7 separate regions of the Homo sapiens genome follow, and regions 2, 3, 4, 5, 6 and 7 are each linked to region 1. Evidence: promoter capture Hi-C in 16 types of primary human blood cells and fetal thymus (Javierre and others, 2016). All regions are on one chromosome and are shown on one strand. The core of a region is centred on a gene start or on the middle of the fragment in contact, and the rest is flanking DNA. Distances in the headings are between cores, read along the strand shown.

Region 1 (3,449 bases), core at 301-2,800:
GAGAATTTATAGATGAATTTATACAGCACCTACATACCAACAAACGCACTACTGCTACATCAAATTTGTAAATCTTCCTTTTAAAACTGAAAGGTGTTAGTTGATCTGCAATGGTGTAACTTTAAAAAGCACAGTAAACCCATGAATGCCTATATAAAGCCTCAACAATTCAGTCCACTGCAACACCACAAATTCAAAGGAAATGTGGTCAAGTTCTTAGGGGCACAAAAATATTTTCGCTCAGTTAAAAAAAAAATGCCCTAGTAATAATATACTCTCAGTTAATTACCTGAAGTTTCATGGCATATATTTAGGTCTTTGGAAACTTAAACACACACACACAATTTTTAAGTAGCAGCGCTGCTAATGGTTTTAGACGCTGAAGCATGTGCATTCCTGAATTTACCCCGTTTAACAAAAAGGGGGACGCGAATATTCACGATGATCAACTTCTTCAATGCACTGCTGGGCCATGTTAGGGTCTTCCTGAAACTTTTGGATCTAAAATCTCCTCCGAAATCCACAAAGAGAAGCCACTAAAAATCAGTTGCCATTGTGATTTGGTGCCGACTACCGCTTCTTACTACTCTTTCTTCACAGCCCTCGCCCAGAACAGTGGAGCTCTCCGAAGTCCCAATGCTAGACCGGAAAAGAGAAGCCAAAGGAGACCTGAAGCCCTCTTGGCGCTGCAGGAGGCGGCCCGGCTGAAGCGCCCCCCGCTCCTCCACAACTACCCACACGACAGGCCCGGATCCCGCTGGGAGATGATGTTTAGGAAAGGGGGAATAAGCCATCGCCGTCACTTAGCGCCGATTTCGGCCCTTCCCGCCCGGCTCTAGTACCTGCCGCCGGCCCTCGCCCATCCCCAGCTCACCCCGGCGGGGCTCGGCGCCGAAAGAGAACCCTCTCCTCGCTGGTCTCTCATTTCGATAGGCGCTAGGGCCTCTCGGAGTCGGAGAGGGGCTTCCAACAGGCCCCAAGTCCAGTCCTTCCCTCCCAACAACATCCCGCCGAGCGTGCCCTGGCACCCAGGCGCGGTGCTCGGGAAGAGGGCCCCGGGCCTGCCTCCCGCCGACACCAAGAAGAAAAGGGAGGGAAGGAAGGGCGAAGATGGGGCCTGCCCTAGAGCCAAGTACCTTGTAGAAAGCGCCATTGGAGCCCCGCACTTCCACCACCAGCTCCTCCATCTTCTCTTCAGCCCTGCTAGCGCCGGGAGCCCGCCCCCGAGAGGTGGGCTGCGGGCGCTCGAGGCCCAGCCGCCGCCGCCGCCGCCGCCGCCGCCGCCTCCGCCGCCGCCGCCGCCGCCGCCGCCGCCGCGCTGCCGCACGCCCCCTGGCAGCGGCGCCTCCGTCACCGCCGCCGCCCGCGCTCGCCGTCGGCCCGCCGCCCGCTCAGAGGCGGCCCTCCACCGGAAGTGAAACCGAAACGGAGCTGAGCGCCTGACTGAGGCCGAACCCCCGGCCCGCTGCGGGTGTAAACACTGAAACCACGTCACGTGATCAACGCTGTTCCCTCCCCCCGCGGGCTCAGCCCCTCGGCCCCGCCCTCTCTCTTCAAGTGGCCTGGGAGCGCGCGCATGCGCGCTGCTGGGAACCGGCCGGGGTGCCGGGTCGAAAGACAGACGCGCGGGCCGGGCGTGCGCGGGCTTGGTGGAGGGCGGGAAGGCTGAAGGGCGGTGACAGGTCGCACTGCCTCGCGAGGGCCAGAACGCCCATTTCTGCAGAGGTGCACTCAGTGGCGTGGGAAATCAAATGCATCCGGTTATCCCAGTTCGGCCTCTCTGGGATTCCGCGGGAGGGGGTGTCTGGTCTGGTTTGGTTTGGTTTGGTTTGGTTTGGTTTGGTCCGGTTCAAAGTAGCGCAGTCTGACTGAGCGGGAGGTGGAGTGGAAGGCGAGAATAGGGGTGAAGGATTAGACAGAAGAAGACTTTGAACTAGGAACAGTGGCAACCAGGGTGACCCAGGCTTTTGTGACCCGTAGAGGCAGAAGGTGAGGCGTCTACGCCCTCTCTCACCAGATTTTGGGCGGCCCTGTGGAGACACCCTGTGCCCTTTAAGGGACATGGATTGAGTCGGGATCTCAAAATGTGAGCCTTTCCTCAGACCCAGCTTTGACCCACGTACTCGCCTTTCCTCAACTCATTTTCATACTTTCACTTGACTATATATTTTTTAAAAATTGTGTTAAGCACTTGAGGTTCATTTCTGCCCCTACTGTATGTGCACCCTGTGCCAGAGGGTGGGGTGAACACGTGTGTAGCAGTCATGCGTCCTGTCCACAGGGGCCGATGCACCTCCTTGCAACCCTTTACATTCCACTGTGAAACAAACCTCAACTTTTTCTTATTCCTGTTTTTACACCGTGCTTATAGCTGCCTTAATCCATGTTCCCTTCGGGATGCTGGTATCCAACTGAGAAGTTGACGGAGCATCTATCGTGTGCCAGACACTGTGCTAAGTGCTAACGAGAAATCGGTGAGCAAAACAGAAAAGAAAAAAAAAGAAGAAACGACTGCCAGCATTGAACTTAGTACCTAGCAAAGTAGGTGGACATAAATCAAATTGTCAGACAAGTAAATGAGTAGTTGCAGCTGTGATAAGGGGTATGAAGAATAGGCGCTTCCATGATGGCGGAACATGACCTAGTCTGGGGTGGAGAAGGGGAGATGATTCCAGCTGGAATATGGCAGGTGAGAGTTAACTAATAGCACTGAGTTGGCAGAGGCAGGATGACCTGCCCCAGGCAGGTGCCCCAGAATGAGAGGATGTTGCTGCTGGTGGAACTCCAGCTTTAAAGCGGTGGATCTAGGGCCACATTCCTCAAGGCCATAGCAAACAGGAAAGACCTTTTGGACTAGGGTCTTTGGAGTAGTCACATGAGGCCAAGAACCCAATAGGGCTGAAAGAGAATCTCATCATAGGCTGAATGGGAGCAGAGCATTAGCTGCAACTCCAATGTATTATAGTAAAAGGGGACACATTGATTAGAATGATTATACCCCTCCAAGTGTAAGCTGTTGTTCAATTTACCCAGGGCTTAAAAATATGTCAACTCTTCACAACCATTTTTACTACAAGCCACACTCAACCTGTGTTGTTCCCTGAACCTGTGATGCACTTTCATCCGTTCATGTCTCTACACATCCTTCCTGGGCCCCATAGAGGCCCTGCACCTTAAGGTTTTCAGCTGGATTCCTATTAGCTAGTTATTTTATCTCAGGTACAGAGAGTTAACTTTGCTCCTCAATTTTCAGCACATTGTCATATCAGTCCCTACAGGGTCCTTGTTTACATTATTTTATAGTGTTTATATTATTTTTTCCTCATCTTTCTCGATCCCCACTCTCATTCTTCTAGACACAAGCTGCAATATGTTCGATAGAGATCCTTGATAATTTAACACAGATAATGTTTTGTTTATGCCTCTTGCATTTACAGAGATGGTATTGG
Region 2 (3,449 bases), core at 411-2,910, 3.0 Mb before region 1:
TTCCCCAAGCTCCAGAGAGGCAGCCCTGGAAAAGAGTGGGTTTCCAGCAGTCAAGTTGAAGAAAGTATTTCAGGCAGTAGAGAGTGATCAACCATGCCCACCACTGCTGAAAGATCTAGTAACAAGAGGACTGAGAGTGGACAAAGGTAGGGGCCAGCAAACTTTTTCTGTAAAGGACCAGATAGTGAATATTCAGCTTTGAGGGCCATACAATCTGTTGCCTCTCCTCGACTCTGACCTGGTAGCACACAAGCAGTTATAGACAGTATGTAAACAAGTGGGTGTGACTGCGTGCCAATAACACTCTACGGATACTGAAACTTTTTTGTTTTGTTTTTTTGTTTTTTGGTTACAGGGTCTCACTCTGCTGTCCAGCCTGGAGTGTAGTGGCGTGATCGTGGCTCCCTGCAGTCTTGACCTCCGGGGCTCAAGTCATTCTCCTGCCTCAGCCTCCCAAGTAGCTGGGGCTACAGGTGCACACCACCATGCCTGGCTAACTTTTTATTTTTTGTAGAGATGAGATCTTGCTATGTTGCCTAGGCTGGTGTGGAATTCTTGGGCTCAAGTGATCCTCCCACCTTGGCCTCTCAACTTAAATACTAAAAAGTAAATGTCACATCATTTTCATGTGTCACAAAATATTCTTCGTTTTTATTTTTCTCAACCGTTCTTTGTTTAGGGGTCACATGAAAACAGGCAGTGGGCGGGACTTGGCCCACTGGCCTTAGTTTGCCCAGCCATGGTCTCAGCTTTTAGATGGATAGGAATGCCTTATCCTACCTCAGGCCAAGTACATTGAAAACTTGGAGAGTAGAGCCCTGGCAAACGTGGTTTTCAAAGCTTCCCTGATACCCAGCAATTCATGTGTATACCCGAGAGAAATAAAAACACATGTCCACCAAAAAGCTTGTATGTACATCCGTGTTCATAGCAGCATTGCTCACAATAGCCCCAAATTGGAAACAACCCAAATATCTGTCTACTGATGAATGGATCAACAAAATGTGGTATTATTATACAATTGAATAGTATTCAGCCATAAAAGACATGAAATTCTGATACATAGTAGAACATGAACGAGCCTCAAAAACATTACGCTCAGCAAAAGAAGCCAGACACAAAAGGCCACATAGTGTATGGTTCCATTTATACAAAATGTCCACAATAGGCAAAATCCATAAAGACAGAAAGATTAGTGGTTGCCCGGGGCTGGGGGAGGGCTAATGGGGAGTGACTGCTTAATGCGTCTGGGATTTCCTTTTGGGGTGATGGGAATGTTCTAGAACTAGATGGAGGTGATAGTTGCACAATATTGCAAATGTAGTAAATGCCACTAAATTGTACACATTTAAAGGTTAATTTTATATTATATGAATTTTACCTCAATTTAAATGAAAAAAAAAAAAAAAAAAGCTTCCTCAAAGATTCTGTCATGCTGCTAGGGTTGAGAAACAGGACCAGTGTGAGGAGACAGCAAATTGCAAAGCAAGTTGAACTCACATCTGGATTCAAAGCTCAGTGTTAAGGTGGACTCAGCATAGGGTCTGTGAGGGTAGAAGGCATGGGTCCTGAGCCTTTCCTAGGCTGGGAACAGTATGTTCTTTTATGGCATGAGGGATAAACTGGGAACGGCCAGGTGAAGGAAGGAAGGGAAGTTATTCCAGACAGGTGGAGTGGTGGGGTCAGGGAGGTGACGGTTGTGGGGCGGGAGGCAGTGTAGAAGGGAAGCTGGAATGAGTTGAAGAATTAAATAGGGAGGCAGGGGCCTGATCAGATCATGTGGGGCTGTGTAGACCATGAACAGAAATTTGGATTTACTGTGAGTGAGATGGAAGGCCTGGGACATGAGACTAGAGGGTTTTAAGCAAGGGAACAACATGATCTGATTTACTTTTTAAGAAGCTTCCCGTGGTTGCTGGGTAAAAAAAACGGGCTGGAGGAGGCTGTTGTGCAGTTATTCAGGGCAGGGATGAGTGTACACATTCAAGACTTTAGGAGACACAGTTCTCAGGATTTGGTAATGGAGTGAGTGAGACCAGGGGAGGGGGGAACTTCTGCCTCCAAGGTTTAGGCCCTAGCAACTGGGAGATTGGTGGTGCCATTTACTAAGATAGGAGAACACTTGTGGGAGGAGCAGAGTGGTTTGGAGGCCAGCAATGGGCAGTTCTGTTTTGGACATCGCAATATGTCTGCAAAAGTTATTTTTGAACAAAATGTTATTGCTGTTAATTGGATGCCCCATTCCACATTTGTGTTCCGAAACATTTTCTGGGAGGTTTCTTGGGCTGCTTCAATTATATGAAAAGACTTAATTCAAAGAGACCAAATGTTGGTTTCTGTGGTTTGAGTCCCCTGAGTGCTTAGGGGAGACTTCACTGGGTAAGTTAAATACAGCCCTACTCTGCATTTGGGAGGCAAATGTTAAGTCCCGTTCCTACAGAGGTCAGGGTTTGGAGGAGAAAATACTGCCTCGGAAATATTACAGAGACATACGTTATTTCTTGCCAAGTGCTTATGCAAATTCCATATTAACTCGACTGAGCACTAGAAAGAAATTTACAGAGCAGTCTCTCACATTAGGAAAACATGCAGGTATAAGGTTTTGCCCTGCCTGACTTGGCACACACAGGCTTCCTGAAGATGGCTGGGTGTTCTGCATTTAGATTTCCAAGGAAGAGGACGCCTTCCCGTGATAATGAGCCTTAAAACGAAGTCGTGACCCACCGGCCTTTGGCATCGTCTTCTTTTCTTTTGGGATCATAGTCACCATGGCCATAATTGCCAATATCATCACTATCGTGTGGTCGTTGGTGTGTTAAGAAAATTCCTCAAACCACCAATGGGAATCCTAACAGGAATCAAAAAAGATGAGATGATTCCTATCTCATTGAAATTTGTTGCATTACATTACAGAGGGTCCCCTTTGGGAGTGAGCAACTCTGCTGCATGTAAGACAGGAGTGATTGGTGGTGGTGGTGGTGGTAGGGGGTGCTGCTCTGCAGAAACATGGCAATGGAAGATGACCCTGCTGTCTGTGAAGCCGCTGCTCCTGACCCACCACACTGGGCTGTTTCTGGGACAAGCAGGCAGAGCAGGAGAGTCTCCACGCCACCTCGCCCTTCCTCCTGAGCCCAGCCAAAGCATTCCCGGGACTTCTGCACTGCCTCCTCCCTCTCCTTCCCCACCTCTGTCTCTTCTCCACTCTCCCCAGCTTTTCACTCTAATGGCTCCTGTCACCTAGAGCAGCATTTTCTGGGTTCTGTACAACAGAGTCCTGAGACTCCATGGATAAATGAAATCATGGAACGTCAATCTGATCTTATCACCCGGCAGTACCACCCCATCCCCACTTAACACTCCTGGGGGTTCATGGTTGCCTTTGAGTACAGTCCGATCTTCACCCGGTCTGCAAGTCCTGTGTGACCTGGTTCCAGCCAATTCGATTCGAC
Region 3 (3,449 bases), core at 388-2,887, 2.8 Mb before region 1:
CTTTAGCATAGAAACTCAAGAGAAGAGTTTTAAAAGCTTGGAGGTTTTTTTGTTTGCTTTGGTGAGTATAGTAGATTCCCTTTATGAAGCTGCTGTTAGGAGAAGGGACTCACACTTGTGCTACATTAAGCTTTTACTGCAACTACAAGGTTGCACAGGACATGATTTGACCCTTGATTTATCCAACCCATGTTCAGCACAATCAAAGGATGGAATATTCTTATGAACTAAATTTGATTTCATAAACACACCCATTCCTCTTGGTGCCATGGCTCAAAGTGTTGCCCAGCTGGGGAATTCCCTCTGATGACCTCATCCCAACTTTGTTCCAGTGACCCTGAAGGTCTAGCCGAAGTCTGCCAGCTCCCTGAATTTGTTCCTGAGGGCTCCAGCCCACCCAACAACCCTGGCCTCTCCGCTACTTTTCTCCTCAGCCTGAATCCAAGCCGCCAGGTGGATAGTTTATATAATGGTTGCATGCCAAAAGCAGTGGCTTTCAAACTGGGCTCTTCAAGTTGCTTCCAGGGTCACCAAAGGAGAGTGGGGCTGGATGATGGTGGACAATGGTGCAGCTGAGCACCTGGGGCATGCCACACATCCCTGGAGCTGCTCTTCTCTTTGTTTCACATAAGCATTGGGGAAAGTACTGCAGCTTTAAAAGACTCCAGAGAGGGTCTAGAGGTACTGAGCAGAGTAAGCACTCAAGAATACTCTATGAATAATTTTGTATTCTGATTAATATATGTACCAATTCCACAAATATCTACATGGTACCAGGTACTGTGTTGGGCATAGATCATGCATATTTGAAGAAAGCAAAGTGTGCACCCTCAAGGAGCACCCTTAGCATATGTATCTGTCCCCTCTATGTCTATGTAAAGGCACTGCAGAATCCTACCGTGATGGAGGGTCATTAACCCCATCAATAACCCTATCTGGGCAAACCAAGAAACACAGACAAACAAATTTCTAGTTGACAAAATGTTGGATAAACCAATTTTTGCAAATAATGTCATATGGAATCTACCAAATTTGGACAGGAGGGCACTACTATTGTGGTAGAGGCATCTGGAAAGCTTTGCTTATTATCTAGAAGTCTAGAATGAAATGGCTTCTAAATACACGATCTGTAGCTACAAACAGATGAACACGTAGAACTTGCCACCTGATCAGCTTCAGCTTCAGAAGGGTAGCCATTGTGTTCTTCCTGAATCTCCTGCACAGCACCAGGTGCATGGACAAGAAAAGGCAAAGAGGAGAAAGAGAAACACGTGCAAACAGACAGGTGAAAGGACAGAATTTCTTTTTTAAGGAGACAGTAAGCATGTAAAAGTCGACACACCTTTCATGACTTTGCAAATCACAACATTTTCCCCCTTGGAGTTAAGGAAATAACATGTAGGCCATCTATAGCATCCACAGCCTAAAATGGAGTATCTATTCTGTGTTTGTGTTGGGGTAGAAAAATGAAAAGCAAACAAACATCATGGATTTCAAAGAATGTACTGTCTTTTCAAAACCAAGCAATAGACAGCATATAGCAAAGAAACAAAATAACAGGCACATAATGTGCTCACAGAAAATAAAGCATACCACAGAAAACTGGTAAAGGGCAAAGTCAAGCCAAAATACAAAGGCAGTTTATAGACATGTATTTTAAACACAGTAAGTATTCATATTACATTGCTCAGGGATCAATTCCACTGCACACATGCATATATCACATGCTGGAGATTATATATATATGTGTATGTGTGTGTGTGTGTGTGTGTGTGTGTATACACACATATATATACATGTCTGTTTCTTATTGCTTATTGCTAATTAAATTCTGTGATTTATAACTCAATATCATATTAAATATTTCTAATTACTCTATCAACGCACTTCCAAGAAACAGCTAAAAGGCCACACATCTTTAATTTTTTCCAATCCCTTTAAAGGTATACTGTTCTTAATTTCTTTATAGAATCTATTATTTTTTGAAACTTTAAAAATTGGGCTTTTTATTCAGCAGCTGGTAAAAAAGAATATGAATACTGAAGATGACAAGATTGTAATCTCTTTTTAAAATTCTATCAAGTCTCCGAGGCTAAAAATATTAAAATTTAGCCTATATATATTTTTGCTTCATGAAACTTTGGTTGCAATGATTATCGTTTTTACAAAGGCAACCAGTGAAGAACTAGTAAAGCTTTAAAAGAATTTACTATTTCCCACCTTCCATTTTTGTCAATAAAGTACAATAACTCCTTAATGTACTTTTATATTTTATCATCAGATTGAATTTAGTACACAGTTGGTATAGTTTAGCATACTTCAAGGCAGTGTAATTTTTCAGTGCAGCCAGTTTTTTGAAATTTCCATTTTTTAAATATAAAGAAAATCGAGTAATTAAGTTTTTAGAAACAGAAAACTCAATGAACAAAAAATACAACATTTCAAAGTTCATGCAAGTGTAAAGCCAAGCACTAATATTTAACAGTGTGAATCAATGAAAGAAAATGATTCCCACAAGCAAAAGAAAACATGATGAAAACAAGACTAAACAAAGGAAAACCAGCTAGAATAACAAGACTTAGCTTGCTTATTTTTGTACTACTTCATTGGCTTCAATAAGATTAAAACTTTTAAACTGAAGTTATTATACTATCAAAATCCACATTGTTTTCCTTGAATAGAAATAGGTTAATTTTCAATGTCTGTTAAATGCATGCACATTACCAATCTTTGTCTTGCTTTATGAATGTTCTGAAATAAAGGGAAGGAAAATCATGAGGAAAATATAAGCTGTAACCCACTATATCTGTATTTTAAAAAATAGTAACTGGGATTGATTTTGCTAAATTTAGCTTCAAGATTAGCACTTCTGCTTTTTTGGATTCAACATGCAAACACAAACATGACTTGAAATCTTACTTAGATAGGACAGCCAACTAACCTTTTTTTTTTTAGTTGCTAAATTCTGTAGCATGAATTACACAATAAACAAGATTAAAAGAGACCTCAGTAGCCCCAGCCTTATAACCCCAGTCATGAATATCCATTTGGTCATAATTCATGTAGTACAACAAAAGTCAGTATTGCACACTGGTAACAATTTTAGCATCCCGCCCTCACACACATTGGCTTTTATTGCACATGAAAACATTGTAACAAATAAAGCGTTTCTAGTGAACACTGAAAGCTATAACACAGCAGAGCAAATTGATCTGAGTGATTCATAAAAACCAGTGAGAAGGTAAAGAACACTAAATAGACTAAGTGTTCGATAAAGCACAGACACACACAAGTAGGAGGCCCATCCGCTGAAAGCCAAATATCCTTACCCTTAGATCAGGCCTCCTGAAAACCTGTTAGTTAAAATACAGAATATCATCATCATGGACATGTTACTATTGACCTGTGAAAGATGCCATTAAGTTCAACAGCCTATTCCCTAAGAAACA
Region 4 (3,449 bases), core at 408-2,907, 2.8 Mb before region 1:
TACTCAAATGTCAGCTTTCTCAGGCTTTCCCTGATCATCAAAATCTCTGAAGGAAACCAGAAGATGAGGCATATTTGGGGGTGACACATTCTGGTCTCCTTTGGCTTCTTAAATGATTCTGATGCATGCCCATCCTGAGTACTTCTGTGTTCGCCTCTACCACCTATCTCATTTATCACATTCGATTTCCACTGTTGGTTGGTTTGTATTCTCCACTAGATGGTAAGTCTAGCAAAATGGTAAGGCAGCAAAAGCCGTGTTGTGCTATTCTCTGAATCGCCCAGACCTCGTGTGTGGTTGAATATTTGCAGATGAGTGAAGTCCTCACCATTTCAAGTGCTGTCTTAGCTGTGACTGGTTTTCAGTGACACTAACCACTTGGGTGATTAATTTATTAAAATATATTGTAATTACACTGAGGTAGAAACAAAAGTGAAGGGAATGTTTCTTGTTTCTGTGCTTTTGGAAACTCCCAAAAGTTTGGCACAATGGGATGACCAAGACAGGCAGGAATGGGCATGTAAAACTGACTGAGCTACATTCCAACAGTGCATGCTGCCTGAGTGCACTCTGGTGTCAGGGAAATGGCCAAGTTGTGGGAAAACTGGATGTTCCGGGTTACACGATAGGCCATCTCTTGTCGTCGGAGGAGGCGGTGGCCCCTCCCAGTTCGACACGGTCACTTTATGTTTCTAACTGATTTCTCTTAGTTCTGCAGCTGCCTCAGAAGCAGTAGGCTTGCTTGTGTGTTCATGAAAACAATAAACTGGTTCCCTCAAAGTGTGAAGAACTGAAAGTAAATGGTTCTGTTTTCTTGCCTCCTGAGCAGTTTGGACGTTTTCCATCTCAGATTTTTGCCTCGATCTGCACCAGCTCCCACGCCCGCGGGGTCCCATCTCCCCGTCCTCACTCCCAACCCCCCATCAAAGACCCTAAGCAGCCACAGCAGAATTGGGGTCTTAAAACCACACGAGGCAAGGTGATGCTAGAAGAGGAGAGCCCGGGTGGGATCTCCCTCCCAAGAGGATTGGTGGCCTGGGCAGGGACAGCCAAGCGATCGCCAAGGGCAGCAGGTGGCGGCGCCGGAAGTGGTTTGACAGCTGCGAAGCCCCTCCCGGGGTTCCAGGAGCTGGGGCTCTCGGGGCGGAAGTGAGCCAGGTGCGCGGCCCGCAGCAGGTCCGAGGGCAGCAGTCCCCGGATGGGGCGCTGAGGTTTCCGGGGGTGGGGGGGAGGAGGGCCCAGAGGGGATGAAGAGGGGCCGCCCACCCCGCCACCGCCAGGCCCTGCGCAGCGCGCGGGGAGGGGGCGGGCTGGCCTCGCGCGGGGCCCTCGGGAGTCGGGGCGCGGGAGGCCGGGGCAGCCCGGGCCCCGCTTACCTGTCCAGGGTCTCCACGCTGGGCTGCCGGGAGCCGGCGGTGGCGCCCCCCGCGGCCCGAGGAGGCCTCCTGCCGCCCGCCGGCCCCGGGTTCGGGCCCCCGCCGCCCTCGCAGCCCGCCGCCGCCGCCGCCGCCGGCCTGTCCATGGCGCGCCGAGTCCTGCCGCCTTGGGGAAGCCGCCGTCGGGACGGGAGCGGCGGCCGGGAAGGTTTCGCTGCTTGCCTCCTGCCGCCCGCTCTATACCGCCCGCCCGCCTCAGGCGGCCGCCGCCATTAGCTGTCACCTGGCGGCCCCGCGTTACCCACAAGGCCGCGCGCGCGGGGGTCGGGGGGCGGGAGCGGGGGCGGGGAGGGCGGCGCGCGGGGCCGGCGCCGGGAACCCCCACCTCGCCCAGCCCCACCTGGGCGCTCGCCCACGGAGCCTTACAGCGGGGATCTGGGACCTCCTGCTCCAGCGACCTGGGTGCGTACAGAGCCACTGGGGTTCGGAATCCCCAAACGGATTATGCGTAGCGTGCTTCACTCTATAGTCACACCGGGTTGACTGCAGAGACGTGGGGTGTAAAAAGAAGTTTGAAGACATTCAAGTATCAAAAATGATTTCCCACCTCAGTTGTCCTTCCCGGAAAAGGTATAGAACAGCTCAAGCTCCCTCGGTCTTGACATCTTGAAGCAGGAGCAATTCCGTGCATTTTAGCAATTCCTCCCCACCCCATTCTTCCCTCCACTCTCCCCCTCCATACGCACCCCGCCGCCCCGCCACAAACCCACCCCCTTGCCATCTGTAGGGCAACCAAGTGTTCTGATGCCGCCCTCGGAGCTTCCGCCCATGGTTTATGTTAAGAGTAACATTTAACTTCTGTTGATTAAAAAATCACTGCTATGAACATCAAGCCAATATCTTGGTGAGGCATTTAGGACATTTGCTTTCTGGGCTAGATTTATTTCCTTGCTCATTTTGTTTGGGTTCGAATATCCAACAGCTCATCCCCTCTCACCTCACCCCTGATTAAGTTGGGAGTGGGTGTGTGGCTCGTGATTAAGCCTCTTTGCCTGTGATTGCTCTGGGTGTAGACAGGAGGCCTGCGACCCAGGTCTGGAAAAGAAGATATAAAGGGAACAATTTGCTCACTGTTAAAAGGCAGATCTGCAGACAGGGAGTTACTCATGCCCATCCCAGACCCATCCTGCCCCACCAGCTTAATAACTTCAAACTGAACTTTGAGGATATGATGCCTGAAGCCCCGACAGCCATCTTACGCACAAGAGGAGGTGAGCCTGGGGTAAGAAGATGACAGAGTGAGGAGGGCTAGGAGGAAGGAAAGGAAGATCCCCAGACAATAATAGCTCCTATCTCACACTGGAGAATCACCGACTGCAGGTTGCTGGCTTTCTAAAATTATTAAATCAAATGGTTAACCCACTGTTATGGACTGAATGTTTTCATCCCCCTGAAGTCCATATGTTGAAGCCCTAATTCCCTGTGTGATGGTATTTGGAGATGGGGTCTTTGAGAGGCAATTAGGTCATGAGGGCCAAGCTCTAGTCTGATGGAACTGGTGCTTTTTAAGAAGGGTCACCAGAGAGCTTGATCTCATGCACTCACATGCACACACTGAGAAAAGGCCGTGTGAGTACACAGCAAGAAGGTGGCCATCTGCAAGCCAGGAACAGAGCCCTTACTAGGTCCCTGCTGGACACTTAATCTTGGACTTTCCAGCCTCCAGAGTTGTGAGAAAATTTCTGTTGTTTAAGCCACCCAGTCTATGGTATTTTGTTTTGGCAGCCTAAGCACACTAAGACACCCACTTTTAGTTGGGTATTTTGTTACAAGTAGCTGCAAGCATCTTAGCTGTGCTGAGAATTGTCAGAAAGAAAACAGTGCAACTTTAAGCATATTTTAAGTACCATATTCTTTAAGAAACATTAGGCCAAAGAGGAATTCACTGTGACACTGTCATACTTCCAATTCAGTTAAGTACACTTAGGATTTAGAGGACAGAGATGAATCTGACATATCCCTGCCTAAGATGTTCACAATCCAGTGAAGGGGACAGACAAATTAACAATGACA
Region 5 (3,449 bases), core at 330-2,829, 2.7 Mb before region 1:
GTGCCCGGCCCAATAAAGCTGAGATTTAATCCCAGCACTTTGGGAGGCCGAGGCAAGCAGATCACGAGGTCAGGAGTTCAAGACCAGCCTAACCAACGTGGTGAAACCCCGTCTCTACTAAAAATACAAAAATTAGCCAGGTGTGGTGGCACGTGCCTGTAGTCCCAGCTACTCAGGAGACTGAGTCAGGAGAATCGCTTGAACCCGGAAGGCAGAGGTTGCAGTGAGCCAAGATCACTGCACTGCACTCCAGCCTGGGTGACAAAGCAAGACTCTGTCTCAAAAAAAAAAAAAAAAAAAAAAAAAAAGCTGAGATTTAAGCATGGGAAGAAGACAAGAAGACATAGCCTCAGTTAAGATTCCTAAGGCTGCCCAGAATTGTCTATCTCTTTTTGGTTGGTTGGTGGGTTGGTTGTTTTCTAAGAGGACTGGGGTCTTGAAGGGGAGAGAGTGGTGATGCTTGCCGTGAAAATAACAAGGATGTGCTACCCAGTCTGTTCACCATCACAATCAAGAAATAGAACATTTCTATCATTCCCGAAGCAGGAGAAGACAGAGCCCAGCCTAATGGGGGCAGGACAGAGAGAGCTTACCTGGATGCAGGAGACCTGGGATCTACATCCCAGACAGAGAGAGCATTACCCTTGTGGGCCCCAGGGATCAGAAGCTTCCCCCAGCTTCTCTCTGGGAGCTGCCAGTGATCTGCAGGCACATGTGCAGTGGGGCTCCAGGAGACCGTGAAAGCCAACCTGTACACTCTGCTCCTGGGCAGACGAGACTGCTATTGCTTCTCACTGGTATTTTGCTTCCACTTTCTCACAGAGCTCAATGTTAAGTTGGAGCCTCCTTGAGGAGGCCCCGCTGGTCAGCAGGTTCTATTTTGCCAGGTGCTAGATGGAAGTTTGAGCCAAGTAATGGGACATGAAAACACATACAGAGAGAAACCCAGGTTCTTTGTCTCAGGGCTTCTTGGACACCGGGGCCAGCACAAAGGGCTTATGGTCATGACATCACAATGTTTCCAAGTGCCAGTCCTGTTTGCTTCCTTCATCACTAGGCACATATAGGGTATTCACCGAGGACTTTGAAGTCTAGTCCACAGGCAACACCATGACAAAATTGCCCCAGTCAGATCACAAATAAAACTAAACCCAACTCACAAGATCCTCTCCTTCTACCCCCAATTACAAAGACTTAAATAAGATAAAAATAAAAGAAACCTCAGTTGTTACACTAAATAACTTTTAAGAAAGTAAGCCCTATGAGGAAATGTTTCACGATACAGTCAAGTGTGTTTTACTCAAAACAGGCTTTTTAAAAAGAGCTTTATCTTTTATTTGAAGGGCCTGATTCATGTTGAGGTGTGTAGTATGCTACTTCTCAAACACAGATTTGTAGACCCAAGATTAAAACCAAGAGAGAATATATGAGAAGGGAAAAAATAAAAGATTAAAAAAACCTGAGGTCGGGTTCAGCGGCTCATGCCTGTAATCCCAACACTTTAGGAGACCAAGGCAGGTGGATCAGTTGAGGTCCCACTTGAGGTTTGAGACCAGTCTGGCCAACATGGTGAAACCTCGTCTCCACTAAAAATACAAAAATTAGCCAGGTGTGGTGGCAGGTGCCTGTAATCCCAGCTACTTGGGAGGCTGAGGCAGGAGAATCGCTTGAACCCAGGAGGTAGAGGCTGCCGTGAGCCGAGATTGCACCACCGCACTCCAGCCTGGGTGACAGAGTGAGACTGCCTCAAAAAACAAAAACAAAAACAAAACTGAATGTCAGCAAATATTTGCTGAACCTGAACGAAATTGTGTTATTTAAGATTAATTAAAATGAATAAAATAGGAATAAACTTAATCAAGGAGGCAAAAGACTTTTACAATGAAAACTGCAAAATATTGCTAAAATAAATTAGACACAAATAAATGGAAAGACAGCTGTGTTCAGGGATTAGAAGACTCAATATTGTTAACATGTAAATACATTCCAAAGTGATCCACAAATTCAATGTAGTCGCTATCAAAATCTCAACAGCAGAGATATTTTATTTTTAGACTAGAAAAATACATCATAAAATTCACATGAAAATCAAGGGGCCCCAAATAGCCAAAACAATCTTGAAAAAGAAGAATGAAGTTGGAGATCTCACATTTCCTGATTTCAAAACCTTACAAACCTATAGTAATCAAAATAGTGTGATACTGGCATAAAGACAGACATTTATACCAATGGGATAGAATAAAGAGACCAGACAGAAACCTTAAAATATATGGTCAAATGATTTTCAGACAAAGGTGCCAAGACCATTCAATGGGGAGAGGGCATCTTTTCAACAAATGCTGTTGGGAAAACCAGATATCCACATGCAAAAGAATGAAGTTAGACCCTAACCATACACCATATACAAAAATTAACTGGAAATGGATGAAAGATCCAAATGTAAGAGCTAAAACTATAAAACTTTCAGCAGAAAACACAGGGGAAAGCTTCTTGACAGGATTTGGCAATCATTTTTTAGCTATGACACCAAAAGCACAGCAACAAATGTAAAGTAGATAAATGAAGTACATCAAAATTTAAAACTTCTGTGCGTCAAAAGAAACAAAAGAGTGAAAATGCAACCTAAAGAATGTAAGAAAATATTTGCAAATCACATATCTGATGAAGGATTAATATCCAGAATATATAAAGAACCCCGGCTGGGTGTGGTGGCTCACGCCTGTAATCCCAGCACTTTGGGAGACCGAGGCGGGCGGATCACGAGGCCAGGAGATCGAGACCATCCTGGCTAACACGGTGAAACTCCGTCTCTACTAAAAATACAAAAAATTAGCCGGGTGTGGTGGCGGGTGCCTGTAGTCCCAGCTACTCGGGAGGGTGAGGCAGGAGAATGGCGTGAACCCGGGAGGCGGAGCTTGCCATGAGCTGAGATCACGCCACTGTCCTCCAGCCTGGGCGACAGATCGAGACTCAGTCTCAAAAAAAAAAAAAAAAGAACCCCTACAAGTCAACAACAAAAAACTCCATTAAAATAGGGAAATGCAAATCAAAACCGCAATGAGATATCAGCTCACACCCATTAGGATAGCTACTATTTTTAAAAAACACAAGCCAGGTGTGATGGCTCATACCTGTAAACCCAGCATTTTGGGAGGCCAAGCCGGGAGAATTGCTTGGGCCCAGGAGTTCAAGACCAGCCTGGGCAACATAAAGAAACCCCTGTCTCTACAAAATATTCAAAAAATTAGCCAGGTGTGGTGGTACATGCCTGTAGTCCTAGCTACACAGGAGGTTGAGGCTAGAGGACTGTTTGAAACTGAGAGGTCAAGGCTGCAGTGAGCCATGATGGCACCACTGCACTCCAGCCTAGACAACAAAGCATGACTTTGTCAAAAAAAAAAAAAAATACAAGTAAAACCCCACAGAAAATAGCAAATATTTATGAGCAT
Region 6 (3,449 bases), core at 473-2,972, 2.4 Mb before region 1:
TCCATTGCTCCCCCCGGGTACCAGCCAGCAGCCTCTCCCCCCAGGATAACTCCAGTAGCTGCCGCACAGACTGCCCTCATTCCTCCCTCCCTTCAACCCTCTCCTTGCAGTCTATTCCCCGATCTCTGTGCCAAACCCCACAGTGACTCCCCATTGCACTCAAAGTAGAACTGAAGTGCTTCTAGTGGCCTCTGGGGCCCTTCAGGCATGTCCCTCCACTATCTCAATAACGTCATCTTCCCTCCACTCACTGTGCTCCAGCCACACAGACCTCCCAACTCTTCCTCAACACATAGATACATTCCTGCTTTACTTAGGACTTTTGCTTTAGCTGTTCCCTTGGGCTGGAATTCACTTCCCCAAGATATCTATGGGCTGGCTCCCTCATTTCCTTTAGTCTTGACACAAATGTCACCTGGCCACCCTATGTAACATTTCAAAGCCCCACGCCCATCTCTGGCACTTCCTCTCTCCTTCCCAGCTTTGTTTTCTCTTTAGCGCTTACCGCTAGCTGACCTCCTCTATAGGTTAGATCCCAAGAGGGTAGCAGTCAGCGTCTGTTTTGTTCACTGCTGTCTTCCCAGCTCCCAGCACGGTGCCTGGCATGGAGTATCTGTTCAATGAATGTTAGTAGATTCTGCTTTCCTGGAACTTTTCAGGAAACTCTGGGGGCCACTGCACTGTACACACCCACTGGAAAAGGGGCCCATAGATGTCATCACATTTGAAGGTGGTTCATGACCTAAACAAAGGTTAAGAAGGCTAGAGGGCAGGCAAAGAGCTTTGTGTTAATGACATGAAACCAGCTTCGGGTCATGTCACCAAGGGGCAGTGTGGCACACATGCATTGGTGGCAGTCTTACAGGCAGTCACAAAGGTACAGAGAGTGATTCCTTCAGTTACTGGTGGAAAGAGGTTTCCTTGTGGTTGTCACCTAGGGTATCCCAAGGTTGATGGACAAATGGGAGAGGAGGCCGGAGACAGAGGCAGGGTGAGGGCTTTCTCTTCACTGAGTAGACTGGCTCTGAGAGCCAGGGCCCTTTTTTCACCCAAAATGCAAGACCAAGTCTGGAGCTCAGCAGCACATCTTCCTCCATTAACGTAGAACTAGCCTGTGCTTTACGTGCAGGGTCCGTGTCCCCAGTGAGGTGTTGATCATTATCTCCATGTTCTAAATGAGGAAATCAGACACTCAGAGAGGTAGAGGCACATATCCAGGGGCACACAACCCATGAGTGGTAGAGCAGTAAAGCAATTGGGCCTCAAAGCTTGGGCCATTTCCACTTGCTATGTGGCCACCCATGTTTAGTGTGTGCAGTCCTGGCCTGTGGGTCCAGGCAAGGAAAAGAATACCATGGGGTTTCAAGGAGCTGTCCTCCTAGGGGAACTCCTGGTCCTTTTGCTGAGTGGTTGCTAAACAAAAAGCTGGGCTTAGGCTATTGGGGTCCAGAGATACCATGCCGGGGCTGATATGAGCCCTGTCTTTGCTCTGACCCAAACCTGGAGCTCAATGGATTTGAAAAATACAATCATCAGCCACCTGTCATTTATAGTCATATTCTTGTGAACAGATGGCAAGTTTTCCCAAGTTCATCTGACAAATACTGGGACTTAACTGGGCAGCCTCTGGAATTCTGGGTGTGGCCTGCGCAGGTAGGGGCGCATGGAGAACACACATGTTGACTGGAAAGAGGAAATACACATCCAGTGACTCTATTTCTCATTACTCCCATGCTCAAAAGCCTCCTGCGGCTTTCTACTGCTGACAGCACTAAATCCCAACATCTCAGCTTGACATGCAAGGCCCTTCATAGTGAGCACCAGTCTCTGTTTACTTCTAGATTCTTCTCTTGGTACTTTCACACATGCACCTGGGTCTCCTGCTTGGCTGGACTGCTGACTGGACACCTAACAATTCCTGGTTCTTCCCACTTCTGCCCCTTTGCTCATATATTCCCCATGCCAGCTCTCCTTTCAAAATCTTGCCTGGGTTGAGCACAGTGTATCACGCCTGCAATCCCAGCACTTTGGGGAGCCAAAGAGGGAGAATCGTCTGAGCCCAGGAGTTCGAGGCAAGCCTGGGCAAGAAAGTGAGATCCCATCTCTATATATATAAAAAAAATCCTGCCTGGCCTTCAAGGCTCATCTCAAAGGCCTTCTCCTCAATGAAGCTTGTCCTGAGTCCCATCACAGCACAGGTGCCCTCCCTCCTTTGGACATCCTCAGCCCTAGCTGTCCTTTTCTGACACCGTAGGCCTTTGTCCTCAGCTCTTCCTTGTTTCACAGTTTAACAGTGCTTTTTGGGGTTTCCCCAAAGCCTCCCTGATGGACCCATGGCTAATCCTCAGCTGCAGTGGGTGTGTGTGTTGGGGGGTGTTCAGGGTACCCTCTGGATGGCAGAATATGAATCCAGAGAGAGAAAGTGAGATGATGGATGTGGCCAGCACCTTCTGGCATCCCCCACTTCACCTCTAATGCTCAGAGGCCATTAGCCAATGCCCAACTGGAGGCCACCACGTCCACCTGCTCCCTTGGCTCCCAGCCCCCTACACCCATGCCTCACTCAGCCAGGCAGATGCCACACCCCAGGCCCTCAGCAAAGCCAGAGACCCCCACCCCCAGGCTCTTGAGCTCTAGGCTCCTGGGGCATTGGCTCAGGGCTTGTGGACTCCTCATCTGCACAGAGTCCTAGCCCCAGGGAACCTGAGTTCTCTGACCACAGCTTGCTGGAAGCCACAACCAACAGGAACACAGGAATGAGGACGGACAAGTGCCCTTGGGAAGGCCTTGGGTGACGACTACCCCATGCAGAGGAAGTGCAGTGAACTTGATCTGGGAGGCAAAAGGCACTGGTGTACACCCAGATTCTGCTGTCTCCCAGCTGTACAACCTCCTGAGCCTCACAGGTCTCATTTCCAAAATGGAGTCACAGTAGTAACGGCCTTATTGGTGTGTAGTCAGGGTTTTAGTTCTGTCATGGACAGGACCACCCTAGTCAAGGTGTCTACCCCATGAGTCATTAGCCCTCAGAGAAGAGGATGCTATCGTGATTGTTATCCTACATACCCTAAAAGACAAGAGGCAGCCAGCCTTGAACCTAATCAAATGAAAAGTATTCGGACAAAAGCTCAGGTCTTGCATGTACGTTCAAAACATCTTGTGATATTGAACACTCTGCAAGTGCTTGATATGTCTGGCAAAAAAAAAGATGAGTCTGTGCCAGGTAAGGAAACAGATTGGGGCACTCACAGAGGACACATCGGCATTTTGCCCCGGTGGGGCAGAGGAGAGCCACTGGGAAACAAGTTGACTTATTTCTTTTTGCTGTGTTCTTGAACAATTTTAATATTCTTGGGGATGTTGAAGAAACACAATAGAAACAAATGGGAAATGGTTAAAATATTGATTGTAATTTCCTGGCGACTTCACTGATTTAAAATACAGGAACC
Region 7 (3,449 bases), core at 690-3,189, 2.0 Mb before region 1:
ATAGTGGTTGATAAGGGTAAGGGATGTAGAGTAGGAAGTGGGTGAGGCTGTGGAGAGGTAATATGAGAGGAATGTTGCGGTGATGGCACAGTTCTGTATGTTGATTGTCGTGGAAGCTACACAAAACTATACATGTGATAAAATTGCATAGAAACACACACACACAAGTATATGTATAACTGGTAAAATCTGAATAACCTCTGTGGATTGTACCAATGTCAATTTTCTGATACTAATATTGTACCATAGTTAGGCAAGATGTTAACATTGGGGAAGGGTGAGTGAAGGGAATACAATTCTTTGCAACTTCCTTTAAATCTATAATTATTTCCAAATAAAGCTTTTAAAATTAACCATAAGAAAACAAGCAACCCAATATTTTGAATGGACGAGAATATAAACAGAAAATTTACCACAGAAGTTAGATGGATGGCAAATAAGCATGTTAAAAGATGTTCAACATTAATAATCATTAGAGAAATGCAAATTATAACCAGAAAGAGATACCACTATACACCTTAGAGTGGCAAAACAAAACAAAAACACACACAGAAAAACTAGCAGTACCAGGTGCTGGCAAGAATGTGGAACAACTGGAACTCTCAAGCCCTCCTAGTGGGAATGCAAAATGGTATAGCCACTCAGCAAAAGTTTGACAAGTTCTCAAAAAGAACTATAACCCAGCAATTTACCAAGTAACCCAGCAATCCCACTCCTATTTACTCAAAAGAAATAAAAACTATGTTCACACAAACCCTGTACACAAATGTTTATAACAATGTATCCATAATAGAGAAAAAATGGAAACAAACCAAGTATCCCTCAACTATAGGACTCATAAACAAAATGTGATACATCTATACAATGGAATATGACCCAGCAATAAAAAGCAATGAACTTCTGGACTGGGTGCAGTGGCTCACGCCTGTCATCCCAGCACTTTGGGAGGCAGAGGCAGGTGCATCACTTGAGGCCAGGAGTTCGAGACCAGCCTGGTCAACATGGCGAAACCTTGTCTCTACTAAAAATATAAAAATTAGCCAGGCGCAATGGTGCACGCCTGTAGTTCCAGCTACTTGGGAGGTTGAGGCATGAGAATCCCTTGAATGTGGGAGGCAGGGGTTGCAGTGGGCTGAGATCACACCACTGCACTCCAGCCTGGGCAAGAGAGTCAGACTATCACACACACACACAAAGGAATGAACTACTGAAAACACAACAACATAGTTAAATCTCAAAAGCATTTTGCTACCTGAAAGAAGCTACATCCAAAAGGTTACAACCATATCATTCTGTTTCTTTGATAATCTGGAAAACTATGGGAATGGAAATTAGATCAGTGGCTGCCAGGGTTGAGAATGGAGAAGGGGATGAATGCCAAGAGGCGGTACAAAGCAATTTCTGAGGTGATGGAATTGTTTGGTAACTTTAGTGATGGCATTAGGCAAAAGCCATAAAACGGTACACCACACCAGTTTGCACTGTGTAAAAAAATAAGTAAACATGCCAAAAAAGGATCCCCCTGCATACCCACCTAAGTGACAACATGTGCTGTCAAGGACGGAGAGCAAATGGAACTCACACATTGCTGGTGGTAATGTAAATTGCTACAGCCGCTTTAAAAATCTGTTTTTCAATATCTGCTAAAATTAAACATATGCATATCCCATAAATCATCAATTTTACCTCTAGACATGTACATAACAGTAATACATATTCACCAAAGAAAGTAAATCCAAGCATGTTCATAGCAGCTTTGCTTGTATTACAAAAACCTGGGAACAATTCCAGTATGTACAAATAGCAGAATGGGTAAATATATCATGGTATACTGATAAAAATGGAATAGTATATGGCAATGAGAATAAAGTATTGCTGACATGACAACATGGATGAATCTCACAAGCAATATTTAATATAAAAATCCAGACAGTAATAAGATTACGCAGTGTACGATCTCATTTATATAAAGTAATAAAAAATGTTGCAAAATAGCGATTACCTTTGGGCAGAAGTAGTGACTTGGAGGGTATTACAAAGAGGTCCTAGCGGTGTTCTATTTTGTGATTTAAGTGCTGGCTATCTTGTTAAGTTGTGAATGTTCATCAGTGCATTCACTTAATATTTGGGCATGTTTTCTGTTTGCAAATTATACTTCCATTAAAAATGTTTTAGGCCAGGCATGGTAGCTCATGCCTGTAATCTCAGCACTTTGGGAGGCTAAGGCAGGAGGATTGCTTGAGGACAGGAATTTCAGACCAGCCTGGGCAACATAGTGAGATCTCATCTTTAAAAAAAATTTTTTTTTAATTTGCTGGGTGTGCTGGTGCATGCCTGTGGTCCTAGCTACTAAGGAGGCGGAGGTGGGAGGATCACTTGAGCCCGGAAGTCAAGGCTGCAGAAAGCTATGATCACATCACTGCACTCCAGCCTGAGTGACAAAGTGAAACCCTGTTTCAAAAAAAAAGTTTAAGAACTTTTAAATGTATGCTTCATTTTCTCTTCTTTTTAAAATTTAGGCTTGCTTATATAGCCAATTGCTAAAAATCTGTAACTAAAACCAAGACTACAGTAGCTCAATGCATAGAAGTTAAAGATAGATAAGGCAATTTTGTAACCTCGCCTTTTACTTTCTGTTTGTTGGCTTTTACATTACTTCAAAATTGTTAAGGAGTAATAAATGCCTGTCCACGTCCATTCCTGTCTGGCCTAGAACATTTAAACTGTCTATAAGTCTTTTGGCTGTAAGTCTCTTGGCCATAGAGATCCTACCAAGGGACAGGATGGACCTGGGGCAGGCAGCCAAACCACCTCCACAATGCTATGGGACAAAATAAAAGTTTGTCCATTGATGTTGCCTCTGGCAAATCCTGGCCAGAAGGAAAGAATGTAAACCAAAAATAAAATTCTAAGCTCCCCAACCACCTGAATGGACCCCTCCTCTTGGCCAAGGGCATTCCAAAGTTAACCTGAAAAACTAGTTCAGGACATGATGAGGAAGGGGGAGTCGGACATGCCTCATTACCATCAACATGAACACTGTCCTTAAGACTGATACAATAGACTCTTTAAGTCTAATAAGAAACATTTACAATCTATTCTCTCTGAAGCCTGCTACCTGGAGGTTTCATCTGCATGATAAAACTGTGGTCTCCACAACTCCTTATCGTAAACCAGACATTCCCTTCTAATGATTCCAGGTCTTTAGATAATAACTCAACCAATTATTAATACCAGTCAGAAAATTTCTGAACCTGCCTATGACCTGGAAGTCCTCCAACTTCCATTTGTCCTGCTTTTCCAGACCAAACGAATGTACATCTCACATGTATCAGTTGATGTCTTATATCTCCCTAAAAACCAAACTGTGGCCTGACCACCTTGGGCATGTCACCAGGACCTTCTTAGGCAGTGTCACAGGCATGTCCTTAGCCTTGGCAAAATAAACT

What was found. The method cuts DNA at HindIII sites, captures the fragments that hold promoters and counts their contacts. A CHiCAGO score of 5 or more calls a contact.
Region 2: a contact is called between a fragment that was not itself captured here and the fragment with the promoter of FMR1-AS1 in region 1, in 4 of 17 cell types (non-activated CD4 T cells, total CD8 T cells, activated CD4 T cells and 1 more). The highest score is 6.1, in non-activated CD4 T cells.
Region 3: a fragment that was not itself captured here is called in contact with the fragment with the promoter of FMR1-AS1 in region 1 in 1 of 17 cell types (neutrophils); the score reaches 5.9 in neutrophils.
Region 4: a contact is called between the fragment with the promoter of MTMR1 here and the fragment with the promoter of FMR1-AS1 in region 1, in 3 of 17 cell types (total CD8 T cells, non-activated CD4 T cells and total B cells). The highest score is 11.5, in total CD8 T cells.
Region 5: a fragment that was not itself captured here is called in contact with the fragment with the promoter of FMR1-AS1 in region 1 in 1 of 17 cell types (total B cells); the score reaches 7.1 in total B cells.
Region 6: a fragment that was not itself captured here is called in contact with the fragment with the promoter of FMR1-AS1 in region 1 in 1 of 17 cell types (activated CD4 T cells); the score reaches 5.6 in activated CD4 T cells.
Region 7: a fragment that was not itself captured here is called in contact with the fragment with the promoter of FMR1-AS1 in region 1 in 2 of 17 cell types (total CD8 T cells and activated CD4 T cells); the score reaches 7.7 in total CD8 T cells.

The regions. Positions count from the first base shown.
Region 1 is chrX:147,909,918-147,913,366 of GRCh38, reverse strand. It overlaps FMR1-AS1 (FMR1 antisense RNA 1), which reads left to right and starts at 1,550. Exons shown (of 2, transcript NR_024503.3): 1 at 1,550-1,725; 2 at 2,372-3,449. FMR1 (fragile X messenger ribonucleoprotein 1) reads right to left here and starts at 1,448. Exons shown (of 17, transcript NM_002024.6): 1 at 1,137-1,448. The coding sequence starts at 1,187. RefSeq lists enhancers at 1,028-1,127, 1,708-1,917 and a silencer at 1,288-1,627. The HindIII fragment of the contact is 5,224 bases long and covers 1-3,449 here.
Region 2 is chrX:150,903,705-150,907,153 of GRCh38, reverse strand. No RefSeq gene overlaps it. Among named protein-coding and RNA genes, the nearest start is that of CD99L2, 6.8 kb to the right of the region's middle. RefSeq lists an enhancer at 3,268-3,449. The HindIII fragment of the contact is 489 bases long and covers 1,416-1,904 here.
Region 3 is chrX:150,712,246-150,715,694 of GRCh38, reverse strand. It overlaps MTMR1 (myotubularin related protein 1), which reads right to left. Exons shown (of 16, transcript NM_001306144.3): 3 at 3,330-3,353. Among named protein-coding and RNA genes, the nearest start is that of MTMR1, 21 kb to the right of the region's middle. The HindIII fragment of the contact is 1,118 bases long and covers 1,079-2,196 here.
Region 4 is chrX:150,691,604-150,695,052 of GRCh38, reverse strand. It overlaps MTMR1 (myotubularin related protein 1), which reads right to left and starts at 1,657. Exons shown (of 16, transcript NM_001306144.3): 1 at 1,377-1,657. The coding sequence starts at 1,522. RefSeq lists enhancers at 114-193, 214-313 and silencers at 1,207-1,346, 1,657-1,726. The HindIII fragment of the contact is 7,697 bases long and covers 1-3,449 here.
Region 5 is chrX:150,560,165-150,563,613 of GRCh38, reverse strand. It overlaps a transcript of MTM1 not described here. Among named protein-coding and RNA genes, the nearest start is that of MTM1, 6.7 kb to the left of the region's middle. The HindIII fragment of the contact is 1,819 bases long and covers 670-2,488 here.
Region 6 is chrX:150,357,101-150,360,549 of GRCh38, reverse strand. No RefSeq gene overlaps it. Among named protein-coding and RNA genes, the nearest start is that of MAMLD1, 4.5 kb to the left of the region's middle. The HindIII fragment of the contact is 903 bases long and covers 1,271-2,173 here.
Region 7 is chrX:149,951,352-149,954,800 of GRCh38, reverse strand. The region is part of intron 7 of EOLA2-DT (EOLA2 divergent transcript); the gene reads right to left. Among named protein-coding and RNA genes, the nearest start is that of EOLA2-DT, 15 kb to the right of the region's middle. The HindIII fragment of the contact is 3,193 bases long and covers 343-3,449 here.